3 separate regions of the Homo sapiens genome follow, and regions 1 and 3 are each linked to region 2. Evidence: promoter capture Hi-C in human tissues and cell types (Jung and others, 2019). All regions are on one chromosome and are shown on one strand. The core of a region is centred on a gene start or on the middle of the fragment in contact, and the rest is flanking DNA. Distances in the headings are between cores, read along the strand shown. Region 1 overlaps TEAD1 (TEA domain transcription factor 1). Region 2 holds the start of ZBED5 (zinc finger BED-type containing 5). Region 3 overlaps SBF2 (SET binding factor 2).

Region 1 (4,545 bases), core at 1,425-3,924, 1.8 Mb after region 2:
TTTGCAGTTGTATCTCCATGGTGCTGTGTATTTTATTCTCTTATCCTCTGTATTTCCTATAAATGGGAAATTTAGATGTTGACATTTGATCTAATTCAGGGTTTTTAAAAACTTTTTTGATGCAAATATTTCATAGCTAGTATTCTACCAGGAGGCACACAATGTACAGTGTCACTTTTTCTGTGATGTTAGTGCCATTGATTGATGATCTCTGCCTGTATCTATTATTTCATGTAGTTTTTGCAAACTGGTGGTTCTCTGATACTCTAGTTCTGTTTTTGGAGACAGGTCTCACTCACTGTGTCACCCAAGCTAGAGTGCAGTGATGCGATCCCGGCTTGCCGTAGCCTTGACTTCCCGGGCTCAGGTGATCCTCTGACCTCAGCCTCCTAAATAGCTGGGACTGTCAGTGCGCCACCATGCCTGGCTAGTTTTTTAGTTTTTTGTAGAGACAGGGTTTCATCACTCAGGCTGGTCTGAAACTCCTGGGCTCAAGCGATCTGCTCACCTCGGCTTCCCAAATTGCTGAGATTACAGGCGTGAGCCATCTCACCCAACCCATTCCTCTTTTTATGGAGAAGGTTTCTCTTAGCAACTATATGGTTAACCTAGCATATAGTTTGTAAAGGAAAGATAGTTTTTTTTTGTTTTGCATATCATTAGGCAATCACTGATTTTAAATTATTGAATGCGTTTCAGTCCATTGCAGTTCCTCCTCTTACTGATGCTCAAATTGTTTCATCTTTGGCCAGTGGGAATTTCTTTAGTTGGCTCCTGTGGCCTTTTGATGTGACCCTATTAATAGTCTTTTATAGTTTCCTTGCTGTCCAACCTCTTGTGTATTCTGGGAGATAGAATGAACCATTTCTGCAGAGTTTGGGTTCCTTTTAGTGAGAAATGGAGTTTCTAGGCTATGATGTGTGTGCTAGGTTCTCTGCTTTTTTTCTCCTCCCACTCCTTCAGTTGAATAATCTGCTCACCTTTGGAAATGGATCCTGCCTGCCATGTCAACTCTAATCGTGGTAAAAGCTTTCCTTGCACACTTGCTCATGCCTGGCCTCTTTGGCTCTCATTTGCCACTTTCATGCTTGTGCTTGTCATCTTGTCCTTTCCTCCCTTAAGAAAAAGACCAAACTGAAGAATTACCATGGATGGTTTGTGGTTTGACTTGCCTCCTGAAGGCCAAAGCTCATGTTAATGTAGGCTTCACAGAAGTCTTTAGTCATTGCCTTCATCATGTCTGCCTGATAGTTTGTTCTATTCCTTGTATACATAACCAGGACATGAGAGATTCCTTATCTTATTACCACCGTGAGCCATTCAGGCTGCAAGCTGTATTTCGATGGTATTGTTGGGTACGTTTGTACTCATCTGTTTCAATAAATATTGATTGAATTAAGCTTTGTACTTCTTCTCCAAAGTGTTTAAAATAGAATGTATTTAATGTCCTAGTCATTTAAAGAATTTATCACTAGTCTATTATTTTTATAAGCTTAAATAAGTTAAAGATTTGTAGTTTTAGATAGATTTATGCATTGGATCCCTAGTTGTAACATAGCTATTGTTTTAGTGCTGCGGGCCTATAGTAGTAGGCCTGCAAGTCTAAGATGAGTGTTTTTTATTTAACAAGTCTGCTATTAAACTTATTTTTAGTATTATAATTTCTGTCTTTGCTTCTTGGAAATTGTTTTATGCCCATGTTGGTGCATCATAGACTATGCACTTAGGCCAACCACCCCCCAGTCCCCCCAGCAAAGCAGGGCTCATTTTAAAGACACGCTCTAATGCTTTCTTCAGAGTTTCCATTCAGACCTACAGTTTTAGCTTCAGTAATACTTTTTTGTTTTGTTGGTGAAACAAAGCTGTATGCGTTCACAGTGCAGCCAACACAGTCTCATGACGGCACAAGTGAATAGTCCTGAAATTATCATCATTCTCCACACCACTGAGAAGTTAACCAGCATCCTGGCCTGGGAAATTTTGGATACACATTTAATGCCCCTCACCCACCACCCCGGCTTTTTTTTCTTTTTAAAGCCGCAAGCTTAATGTAATGGTTCCTCTGTATTAAAGGAAAGTACAGTATTGTAGGGGTTTATTTCCCCCCCGCCCCCGCTTTCCTCCGTGGGCACTGAGAGTAGGGGGAAGAGCCCCGTAATTCACAAGGCAGGCTTCTGTGCCCCGCGGTAAACTCAGTTTCACAAAGGGAATTTTCATTATGGTCCTGTGGCTCCCTAACATAGTGGAGGCTTCAGGAGGCAAGTGGTAAAAGCTACCAAAGAAAAAGCTGGACTGGAGCCACTGACGTCATGTCAGTAAATCTGCTGGAGGAGCCCAGCCATGCAGCGCCTGCCAGCCGGCCCCTGCACTTTGGCCTTGCCTGGTCAACTGTTCTTACTGCTTCCTCCACCCCCACCCCACAGAACAGCCTGTGTTTTTTGTGTTCTTTTCCCCCTTTTCCTTCTGTGCAACTGGGCTGTGTTGAAACCCATAAAGGCTTTTGAAAACCACCCCTACTGGTCCTGTGCTTAATGTCTTGTGTGGGGATAGTGGGGAGAACCCAACAATCCATGAATGAGGGAGGCTTTAAAAGTTTTTTCTAGTGGGGACCTCTTTGTGATGAATAAATCCACAGGGAACATCATGGAAAGCAGCCAGAGGTGCGAGCCCCTGGTGCTTAGTACTTTTAAAGAACTTCGCTTTTAAGTCCTGGGCTGTGTGCACATGTGTGTGTGCGTGTGTGCATGCGCACAGTAAAGGACAGAGAAGGCCAGTCAGCACATGGGTGGAAATACAGAATTTCAGCCTTCTAGCAGAGGATGATTTAAGAGAATGAGTTCCAATGCGAGTCCTTTATTACCCATTAATCATTGGTCTGCTCACTCTGAACTCTGGTTTGCAACTGGAACAGTTAAATCTTAAGCTACATGCTTCTGTACATCCTGGATATTTAGAGTCACAACCCCAGATGGGCCTGAATTAAAATATTGCTGTGCTAAATCTATTTTTACATCTAGGGGAATGACATCTAAAAATAAACCTTATCCCACCTGTTATCCACTTTTGGGAAGTTGAAACGCTGTTAAGTCGCAGCCCATGGATTAAGCTTTGATGACGGCTTCCCATGTGATGCCTGCATTCCACTTTTCCTGCCACTGGCATGATGTTTTCATTGTTTCGGTAACCGTTGTCCTCCTGTTTATTTTGCTGTGAATATTCATTTGCAAATAAGAGTGAAGCATAGGTTCAGACTGGTTTTGATTTTCCTGAATCTTAGGGTCAGAAACATATTAAAAGCAGTATCTTATCCATGAATCATGAGATGAGTCAGTTCCTGAAACCACTACAAGCCTCATAGTTCTTGGCTACAAGCAAAGGCAGGAAATCCAGGCTTCAATAACTTCCTTTCCCAGTCCTGGCTATAGCCGCGTTGGTGGTTAGGTTCTGCTGCCTGCCTTTGTAAGCGGTAGGAAGATGTATGTCTGAGGAACAAAGGCACTTGAGTCAATTTACTGAAACTGTTTATAATTTGTGGTCTTGATCTGAATGTCAGGCTGCGTTGGCACACCCTGCTCTGCTGTGCGGCCCGGCACAACTCAGCCAGGAAAGGCGGCAGGCTGAGTCCGGGGAAGTGCCCCAGCAAACACATGGCAAATGTTTCAAGGGGCTTTAGTGTTCCAGTGAATCCTAAAACTAGGGGACATGCAAGCCGACACTAGGCAGAAAGCTCTGGATTCCATATGTATAGTTGAAGTATCGACTCTTTGTTTGTTCTTCACTTGAGAGAAAGGAGAGAAAAAAGAGAGAGAGGGGAGAGAGACGAGAGAACAAACTAACACACTCGCCAGCCTGCCAAGCTCTGGCCTGTCTCTTGCTTTTACTTGCAGTTTACTTCCTTATATACAGGGTCCTCTTTTTTTTTTTTTCCTTTTGCAGTGTTTCACGCCAGTCTTCCTGACTTCAGAATCAGTTTTATAACTGTTTTATTAAATATTTTAAAGAGTAAGGGAGAAACACGAAGTTGTCTCCCAATGTTGGGTCTGCTGTGACTCGTATTTATTTTTCTCCTTTATGAGCAGTGCCCACTTTGTGTACGTACCCAAGTCAGAGCAGAGTTGGGTTGGTGTTTCTGTGTGAAGTTGGGACTCACTGTTGCTTTGTGCTTTACTTGTGAATTTATGAGCTTTTTCAATCTTGAGAAAAATTAAAATTGAGTGTGACTCATTTTCATTTACCAACTCTTACCTTCTTTTTCTACGCTAATTGGTGTTAGCTAGCGTGGGATTTGAGAAAATGGGACTGAAATGAGACCCTTCTCCCCCCTACTGTAGGTTTATATGGAGTCATTGGAAGTTCTGATAGAAGTCTAAAAATAGCATGGGTAGACAAACCCTGTGAAAAGACACTGAGGAAGATGGAAAAAAATTTGAGATGATGAGCAGTTAGATATTGATGCTACCTTTTAAATTGAGCTTGTTTCCAATTCATAGCTGGCAATAGCTCAGAAAGGTCAAATTCTATTTCAGCCTTTGTAAAGAATAAAAT
Region 2 (4,864 bases), core at 1,179-3,678:
GGCTAGCAACAATTCTGAAGAAGTGAATTAAACACACACACAGTTCCAAGTTTTGCGAGATACATAATTCTACTGTATCCTAAATGTTATGCGTTAACAATGAAGAATAAATTGTATATCAAAAGTTAGGTACTGTTTCTCTGGACTTAAATTATATAAACGTTTATATTATCCAAATTAAGACTCAATGAAAGTAATGTATATTTTTACAGATAACTCTGCATTCTATTTATACAACAGGTGACGACTTAACCAGGACCTAAAAAAAAAAAATAAACTCTCATTTAAGAGGTTTATTTCTCATATAATAAAACAAATCAAAATTAAAAGGATAATGCAATCTAAGGATTGCTAAAGAATACTATTAACTCTATAAATCAAGGCATACAAATTATGTCTGTCCAAATATAGCTACTTTTGATTTAAACTTTATAACCTGGCTATAGAGTAAGTTTTGTATTCTCATGTTAGATCTTGAGTCAAAATGGTTCTCCTATTAAGGGGTAGAGGATAAGATACCTGAAATAAGGTGTTCTCCTTTCTGTAATCCCTCTCTCCACCTTGGCAGCTTGAAATGCACTCTTCAAAAGAATAAAATTAAGGGATGGGGTGGGAAGGGGAGTAACCAAAAGCCTAGAATGAGAAAAATTAAAATTAGATACAGTAACAAGCAGAACTAACTATAAACCCGTAAGATGGGTTTATTCTTTCTGGATCTAAGCAGTGAAAATGATTCTTTACTGCAATGCAGATCTTGGACTGAAAGAGAAGACGCCTAGCATAGTAAAAATTCTAACATTTTCATCCTGTTCAATATCTTGGCAATTTAGATGCTTTGAGATGTTCCCCCACCTACTGACTTCATAGAAACATGTTAAAACAACACCACCACCACACTTTCTAGAACTTGAAACTAAGCCTAATTTTTAAAAGTACAACCTCATCAATGTCTCTAAAACTAGGTCTTGAATCTAAAATGGAATTATACATAGAACTATTACATGAAGCAGTTCTTTCACTACAATCATTTTTAGCCCCCCAGTGACCAATCTCCTCAGGTAAACAATGTCTAATGACTGATGATTGTTTACTGTATGCCAATTACTGCTAAATCCCTCATATAGATTATCTCATCTATGAAGACACAAGGATTATTAATAACCCCACTTTAGAGATAAACAGACACAGGTTAACACATCTCGCTAACACCTCTTGTAAGTGAAAAACCAAGTTCAGAGCCCAAAAAGTTTGACTGCATAGCCCATGTGTCTAGCCATTACTTGGGTGTTCCTGAATACTTTTAATTCCCCAACTACTAAAAAATCTCGTTACTAGGAGTTGGGTTATGCAGCGAAACGGATGAACAATGGATTATAACTGCCAGAAAGTCGAGGGTCTCATACTAGCAACAGCATAAAGCCCTGCTTCTTATTGGGAGCAAAAAAGCAGATTCTCCTTCCACAGTCTCCTTTTGGATTTTGCAACGGAGAACTCTGTGGAGCTGCTGGTTCACGTAAAAGATCAGGATCCCTCTCGTTGCCAGAGGACACAGAAGAGTAGGAAGCTTTTGTTTTCAGAAAGAAGGTCCTCAACCCCACCTCTTCGAAGGTGTTTCCCCGAATTTCTCGAGGACAAAGAATCTGGACTCCTTTGAGAGTAAAGTTTCCTTTCCACTCCCTGAAGAGCGGGGAAAACTTCCGTCTTTAGTCTCCTTCCGGTTAAACTGACAAGTATCACAATCCTTTCTCCCCTATCTTCGGGCGGTTCCGGCTGGGAACAATACCCTCAGGGTCAGGAGGACAGGATCTGAGTGCAGGCCAGCCAAAAAGGTGGGAACAGATGCTCCTTCCAACACCTAAATGCTTTTTTAAACGGTCACCTGGATGTGCAGCCAGGGCCAACTATCCCTCAGCTCCTCCCTGTCACAGGTGCGCGCTGCCCACAGATTGCCACGACTGGGGGGCTCCCTACCAGTCGCAGCCCACCCTCGCCTCAGGTCTTCTCTCGCGTCCCCGGGCGGCCGCCTGCGCTAACGACCACATGAAAACGTCTCAGCACCCAACACCATCTCTCTATTTCATCTCCATCAGCGATGGAGAGAACGGATTTTGCCGCGGCTGGGCTGCACAGCAGCGCCGCGGTCCACAGCAGAGCCCGCGACCGCCATCTTAGGCAGTTCCAGGAAGCGGCCATTTCAGAGCGCACCGCTTAGCCGCGGCGGCGGCTCTGCTTCTCACCTTCACCGAGGCCTGAACAGGGTCAACAGCCAGTCGTCGTGGACTGGAGGGGGAGGGGAGAGAGGGAGGGGAATGAAAAACAAAACAGAGAGGAAAGAAGGATTCGGGGACAGGGTGATGCTCTCAGCTCAGGGATATCGCCTAGGCCATCTCCATAGAGATCCGATTCGCGGCTGGCGCGGTCGCCGGTCTGAAGATAAATTTAGCACTCTAGAGCACCCGAACCCTACAATCTTCACGAGCGACTCTGCCGCCGCCCAATCAGCGCCAGATTTGCGTCCCGCCACCAATCCGCGCTGAGCAGCGGGGCGGGACCAAAGGAAAGGACCAAGCTCGGTTGAGGCGCGGCCCAGCCGCAGCCGCAGTCACAGCCTCAGCCGCAGCGGCCGTGCTACCTAGGTGATAGCGGAGCGGCTGGGTAGGAAGCAATTGTTCTCAAACTTCACTAGCCCCGTCGGCGCGGACGCTTGTCGAGAATGCAGATTCCTGGGTACTGCCAGATACGGTTGGTGATCTTGTAGGGCTGGAGTGGAAGCCATGAATCTGCATTTTCATCATTTCTGGCCCTCTGCCCGGGCTGGGGTGATTCACGGGGATTCGTAGTGGCCCCAAAGGAGCACGCAGAACCTCGGCTGCTGTGCATTTATCACCTCTTTTGTTCCCGGAGGCCGCACCCCAGGTCCAGTTTACACAGCTGCCAACTCCTTTTCTTGGTTCCCACTGGAATCTAGGAAGAAAACTCGCCCTTTACTTCTCCGCCCCACACCCGACGACGGAGTGTCTAGAGGTCTGGTCGGCCTTGGCTGTGCGGAGGGCTAGGCCTGACGAGCGGGCGCTGATGCGGCGCAGACCCCGCCGGACCTCTTGGTCGGCCCGGGGTAGGCTGGGGAGCCGCGGGAACAGGACTGGATAGGGAAAGCGGCACCGCAGCGTCCACGGGCAAGCTGAAAGTCCGCTTGATGTCTTTGCATCACAGTGGCGCCCTCCCCGCAGGAACGCCCGGCCGCCTGCACCGAACGTTTGCCTGCAGGGAACGGCCAACCCGCCCTGAAATACTCTTTTTGTGGGCTGCAGCTTTCGGGTATTTTAAGCCATGGTTCTGTGCCCTTCCTTGTTTTCAAAAACACCACAGCCAAAGGCTGCGGGTTGTGTGCTTTCATTTTGTGTTAAGTTCTGTGGTGGAGACCTGGAGTCTGTTTTTCCAAATAGGCACCTTGAAATAGATACGCTTCTTAAGCGGGGAAAGTACGAGTAGGTCCTATTATTTGCAATGTTTTAGCCTTTCCAGACTCCGTACAAATGACTAAATGAAGATTGGATCGTATTTTCAGGCACTGCACCAATGATAGAAAATTCTCAACTTGGGGTCAAAAGCAAGGGCAGCTTTCGTTTTTCTTAAATATGCTTCTGATCAAATATCTAAAGTGTTGAAAGAAACCTAACCCTTAATAGCACAATTTACAGGAGTGCATAATTTCCTAGGACTGACATTTAGTTCCAAATGTTTTAAAGTCAATTACAACATCATCTCACCCTATAGTAAGCTGTCCATATATTCTCATTATTATTTTTAAATTATTTCTATTAAATCAGCTTCATTTGAACTTTAACCATAAATGCATAAATCGTTTTTGGGAAGGGGGTACAGTCGCGCTTGAAGAGCAAGGGATTTTGTCATTGCGGGAGTTGTCTGGCTTCAGAATAATATTGGAATAATATATTTTCGTGTTTCATATTTTAGAAAAACCTTTTACATATGTGCTCCCAAACCAATCTTTTTTTATTTTTTATTTTTTTTATTATTATACTTTAAGTTCTAGGGTGCACAACTTGCAGGTTTGTTACATATGTATACATGTGCCATGTTGGTGTGCTGCACTCGTTAACTCGTCATTTACATTAGGTATATCTCCTAGGGCTATCCCTCCCCCCTCCCCCCACCCCACGACAGGCCCTGGTGTGTGATGTTCCCCACCCTGTGTCCAGGTGTTCTCATTGTTCTATTCCCACCTATGAGTGAGAACATGTGTTTGATTTTCCTGTCCTTGCCATGGGCTCCCAAACCAATCTTTACACATCTTGTTTACATCTTCATGAAGAGGGAAAACCCAAAATATTAAACTGTTAGGCAGAATAGTGTTTAAATAAGTACATCTAAAGTTTAGGAATTAGGTCCTGATATGATTTGACTCTGTGTCCCTACCCAAATCTTATATCGAATTTTAATCCCCACGTATGGAAGGATTAAAGTGATTGGATTATGAGGACGTTTTCTCCCATGCTGTTCTGATAGTTAAGTGAATTCTCACACGATCTGATGGTTTTATAAATGGTAGTTTTTCCTGTGGTCTCACATGCTCTCTCTCACCTGCCGTCATGTAAGACCTGCCCTGTAAGACGTGCCTGCTTCCCCTTCCTCCATGATTGGAAAATTTTGTGAGGCCGCCCAGGCATGTGCAGCTGAGTCAATTAAACCTCTTTCCTTTATAAATTACCCAGTCTCGGTATTTCTTTATAGCAGTGTGAGAATGGATTAATATAGGGCCCCAAATCTGAAGTGTCTCATAATTAAAGTTCATGAAACTTAACTTTTTTTGTAATCGTTTTGTCAAATTATTACAGAATGT
Region 3 (4,665 bases), core at 232-2,731, 1.0 Mb before region 2:
AGTGATTACCTGGTATCATGCAATGAAGGCTCTTGATGTGATCCTGAGTAACTCCACTCTCTGTACAAACTTTGTCAATAAATCGGGTAATGAACCGCACAACAGAATTGGCAATGTCAGTATTCTCTGAATCTTCAAACCCACTCTCTGTATCATAGCTCTCAGCTACACTTCCTGCAATACTAAGACAGTCAAGGAAAGAAATCATGGTCAGTACTTAAATGCAACAAATGACTACTATATAGTAGTCAATTTACATAGCGACAGAAACATGAGCAAAGTGATGTCTACTCAAGTAGAAGGCTCACTTAACTCCATGGCTCCTTGGTAAGTGATGGTGATAAAACACAATGTTCTACTAGTCTACATTTGGAAACTACTGTCAGGCAGTAAGTTTCTGTAAGGAAATTTGTTTGGACCCAGATTTGTTTCTGTAAGGAATACCTTTAGTCACTCTCCCAAAAGGAATGCAGGAACCACAGAAAATAAAGCAAAAGAGGATTTTTTCATTTATTATGGACTACCTGGGCCTTCTAAAGCAACCTGTCCTCCCAAGTTAATTATTACATAGAGAACAAGTAATACAGCTATCTTTGGCTACTTGGCAACTGAGGAACATGTTCCCTGGTAGGCAAAGTAAGAGAATTTTTCTCAGCAACAAGCGTACTCTTCCATATGTAAGGACCAAACTGTCCCTTCTCTTGCCAGGATTTATCACTCTCTGAGTTAACTGCAACCCATTTGGCCACTTTGAAGCCAGCATTCTTCTGTAGATGATAAAATCATGCAAGAGAAGGGAACAAATTTGAAATGGAACAGATGTGAAAGCTCAATCTCTGCCCTTCTTGCTTATTCAGCTCTTACTGTTCAACCCATCAGACTCTGGGAAAAGACTCATTTGTCTGTTCCTATTAACTTCTCTTTTCTGCAAAGCCAACCACATTAGCTGAATCAGTGTTAGAGATTGTTAAAGTAAAGCTAAGCAGAGACTATGGCCATCAACATGCAGACTTTGAGAGAGCACTGTCATCTATAATGATTATTATTTGTTTATATTTATTTATTTATTTTAGAGACAGGGTCTCACTCTGTCACCCAGGCGAGAGTGCAGCGATGCTAGCTGTAACCTCAAACTCCTGGGCTCAAGAAATCCTCCTGCAGCAGTGATTCTCCAGCCTCAGCCTCTCAAGTGGCTAGGACTACAGGTGTGTGCTACCACACCTGACTAATTTTTATTTTTTGTAGAGATAGGGTCTCACTATGTTGCCCAGGCTGGTCTTGAATTCCTGGCCTCAAGCAATCCTCCCACTTCGGTCTCCCAAAGTGCTGGGATTATAAGGTAGTCAGCCCCATGCCTGGTCCAAAACTTTAAAAGAAATGTAAAATATAGTTATTGCTTGTTATAATGAAGATGAACGTCACTGGCAATGGAGAATGGAGATAAAGCTGTGACAGCTAAGGAATATCTTACAAATTAAACAGATAGGTCCTGTATTGAAACAGAGTCTTGTGGAATTATGAGTAGTGAAGGAATGGGAAAGCATCATTTCGGGAAGATCCTTTTGGCAGTAGAAAGAAGAATAAAAAATGAAACAACTAAGAGACTGTTATAATTAGGGCTTGAAGTGATAAAGGCCAGACTATGTTGTTCCCATTAAATAACCAGAGGATGAACAAGAAACTCTATATGGGTGGGGGTAAGAGATCTGTGCAGTTGACTGTATGGTGTGAAATGCTGATTCCAAGTTGTCTAGCCTGGAAGACCAGAAACTCTGAGGTGTCCCTGACAAAAATGAAGTACCTAGGATAACAAGATTAAAAGGTTTGGGCCAGAGATTTAGGCTTGTGGATGAGTCTTCCACAGAGTAAGAAGAGCTTGGAAGAGGAATTGAGAATGGGAAGAGAAGAGGAGCTGCCTGAAGGAGCATGAGGAGAAGAATTTATGCGAGCTCGAACTACCAGGATGTTGCGGCACCCATCACTGAAGCTCTAAGGATAGAATTTCACTACTGTTGGGTTGATAAGTTCATTTATTCACTCATTTAATCATCTGTTCAACCAAATATTTATTGAGTACTATATGCAAAGACACTAGGAATACAGCAATGAACAAAACTGACAAAGGAAACATAACAAGCAAACATATGAAAATAAATCAGGTTGTAAAAAATGACATGAAAGACAATGCAAAGTAGGAGAGGGAGAGGTATTATTAAGATGCAGAAGTCAGGAGGGCTTCTTGAGGCAAGTAACATTTGAGCAGAGACCTAAATAAAGTGAGGAAGTGATTCTTGGCCTGTTTAGGTGAGAATATTCCAGAATGAAAATACCAGTACAAAGGATGTGAGGCAGGAATATGCTTGGAGTGTCTGAGGATTAGCATGAGCAGGGAGACCAGTTTGGTTGACAGAAGAGTGATAGGAAATAGGGGGTCAGAGCAGTAGCCAGAGGACGGATTCCGTTAGGCCTTGCAGGCCATGGTAAACACTGGGTTTTAGTTTCAGTGGTATGAGAAGTTACTGGAGGGTAGAGAGGAAGGCATGGTTGAGGGTATGACTACAAGGTTGAGGAAAAGGAGGGCTGAGAAACAAACAGCCACTTTTGCAAGAAGGTGCTCACTAATTTCTTTGGAATGATTTCTGTAAATTGCTTTGGCAGACAGTAACTGAAGGGCTGGATCAGTAATGGGTGAGACATTTGGAAAAATTAGGTCATAAAAAAGAAGAAAGTGTGGGAAGTGGTTAAGAATAGTAGGATGAAGTGAATCTTTTAGAAAGAAAAGCTGAGCAAGTCCAAAGGTGAGGAAAAATGGTTAACTTTTGAAATATGTACAGCAGTATTTGCTCAAAATGTTTAATATTATCTGTCAAGCCAAGACTGGCCCCAAGAAGAGTAGGAGGAGGGTCTGTGTGTTCACATTTTGGTACCTGTTTGTGACAATGCTGTTGCTTCCGCTCTCCCAGTCACCTGGCGCTGATGTTCTTAGGAGCTTGTTTTTACTTGTGTCGAGTGGAACTAGCAGGTTCACCATGAGGTTTGCAAAGTGAATGGCCTGACTAAAGACAGTGCTTTCCTCATGTTGCACTAGCTCTTGCTGAGTTGACTTGCTCAGGGTAGGCCAAAGGCGTAGTTGCTCAGCTGCCAGGTCCATTGCTGTCTTCTCCTGATAATGGTCATCAGGAAGCTTATCCTAAAAAATAAAGCAACACAATCCAAAAGAGAACCATCACTTCAGGTGAGCTTAAAAAACATAGATTTTTTTTTTTTTTTTTTTTGAGACGGAGTCTCGCTCTGTCACCCAGGCTGGAGTGCAGTGGCACGATCTTGGCTCACTGCAAGCTCTGCCTCCCAGGTTCACGCCATTCTCCTGCCTCAGCCTCCCGAGTAGCTGGGACTACAGTCACCTGCCACCACGCCCAGCTAATTTTTTGTATTTTTAGTAGAGACGGGGTTTCACCATGTTAGCCAGGATGGTCTCGATCTCCTGACCTTGTGATCAGCCCGCCTCGGCCTCCCAAAGTGCTGGGATTACAGGCGTGAGCAACCGCGCCCGGCCTAACATAGATGTTTTAAATAACTATTCTATTAAATGCTTAAATCAGCAAAAATGAAAACATAAACATAACATAACAACCACAAAACAAAACCTAGTCTTCTTTCCCAGATCCAACAGGCCTTGAGTGGAACTATGTGACAAACCTCAGGAAGCAGCAGCAAAGCACCTTATAGCTTGTGAAGAGCTGGTATGTCTATGGTCTCACTTGTACCTAACCTAGGGCTGGCTCCGGGATAGACTTCTTTAGAATGGCTGACAAAGAAGCAGTGACATGTGTTTGCTCTATGAATGCTTTCGAGATGTGTCAATATTAACATTACATCTGCTTAAAAAATGATCAAAAGCACCCCCGAAGCCCAGTAAATTTCTGGAGTAGAATGATAATCAGCCGTTAAGGCTGCTTTAAGTTCAATTCATGAGGATGATAGTTTCTAACACTTATTATTACTGCATACCATGTACTCTTCAATGCACTTTATATATGAGACACTAAAATCTCATAATAATCATATCCATTTTACCAGTGAAGATATAAGGCACAGTGAAGTAACATGACTTGCCCCAAACCAGAGAGCTAGTAAATGATGTTTTAAACTTTCAGAGTATTTAAAACTACTCTTTCAAATTAAAAACAATTTTCTTGATTTTTAAATTTTTTTGATATTTTTCATAAAAATATTTTATGCTGATAAAACATAGAGAAACATGTAGAATATTCCTAGAAGAAGACCTAGATTTATTACTGGCATTTTTTTAATACAACTACCAAATTTTACATTTATTTTGGAGTTAATTAACTTTAATTTGACATTCCTCCAGGGAAGTTAGTTGCATAGAGAAGTATGCCTGTTATTTTAGGTTTGTTCTTTCTATTCAACTTCCTATAGTCATTTCCAGGAAATTCTTATTTATTAAAGTATATTAAAACAATCCTAGTGCTGAAGAACTGTATTAAGAAGTTATTATGGAAAAACATAATGTCTGAAATCAACAGAGGAAAGATATCACAGGGCTCCCTAAATAAAACCCAAATACACTGGCAGGAAGTAGCTAGAGTTTTTTTTGCCCTGGGAACATCTGCTTTCCTTAAAGCCAGAATCCTAATCCCA

What was found. Contacts are between HindIII fragments. The study calls those that stand out against the background at their distance.
Region 1: a contact is called between a fragment that was not itself captured here and the fragment with the promoter of ZBED5 in region 2, in 2 of the 25 tissues and cell types used here (bladder and psoas muscle).
Region 3: a contact is called between a fragment that was not itself captured here and the fragment with the promoter of ZBED5 in region 2, in 1 of the 25 tissues and cell types used here (hippocampus).

The regions. Positions count from the first base shown.
Region 1 is chr11:12,690,492-12,695,036 of GRCh38, forward strand. The region is part of intron 2 of TEAD1 (TEA domain transcription factor 1); the gene reads left to right. Among named protein-coding and RNA genes, the nearest start is that of TEAD1, 18 kb to the left of the region's middle. RefSeq lists an enhancer at 2,917-4,116. The HindIII fragment of the contact is 5,849 bases long and covers 1-4,545 here.
Region 2 is chr11:10,855,625-10,860,488 of GRCh38, forward strand. ZBED5 (zinc finger BED-type containing 5) reads right to left here and starts at 2,429. Exons shown (of 3, transcript NM_001143667.2): 1 at 2,238-2,429; 2 at 520-633. It overlaps ZBED5-AS1 (ZBED5 antisense RNA 1), which reads left to right and starts at 2,593. Exons shown (of 3, transcript NR_034137.1): 1 at 2,593-2,742. RefSeq lists enhancers at 2,095-2,474, 2,628-3,265, 2,775-2,864, 3,266-3,901. The HindIII fragment of the contact is 25,171 bases long and covers 221-4,864 here.
Region 3 is chr11:9,853,531-9,858,195 of GRCh38, forward strand. SBF2 (SET binding factor 2) reads right to left here. Exons shown (of 40, transcript NM_030962.4): 19 at 2,928-3,190; 20 at 10-182. All of the region lies in intron 1 of LOC101928008 (a long non-coding RNA gene), which reads left to right. Among named protein-coding and RNA genes, the nearest start is that of LINC02709, 96 kb to the left of the region's middle. RefSeq lists an enhancer at 2,278-2,377. The HindIII fragment of the contact is 9,218 bases long and covers 1-4,665 here.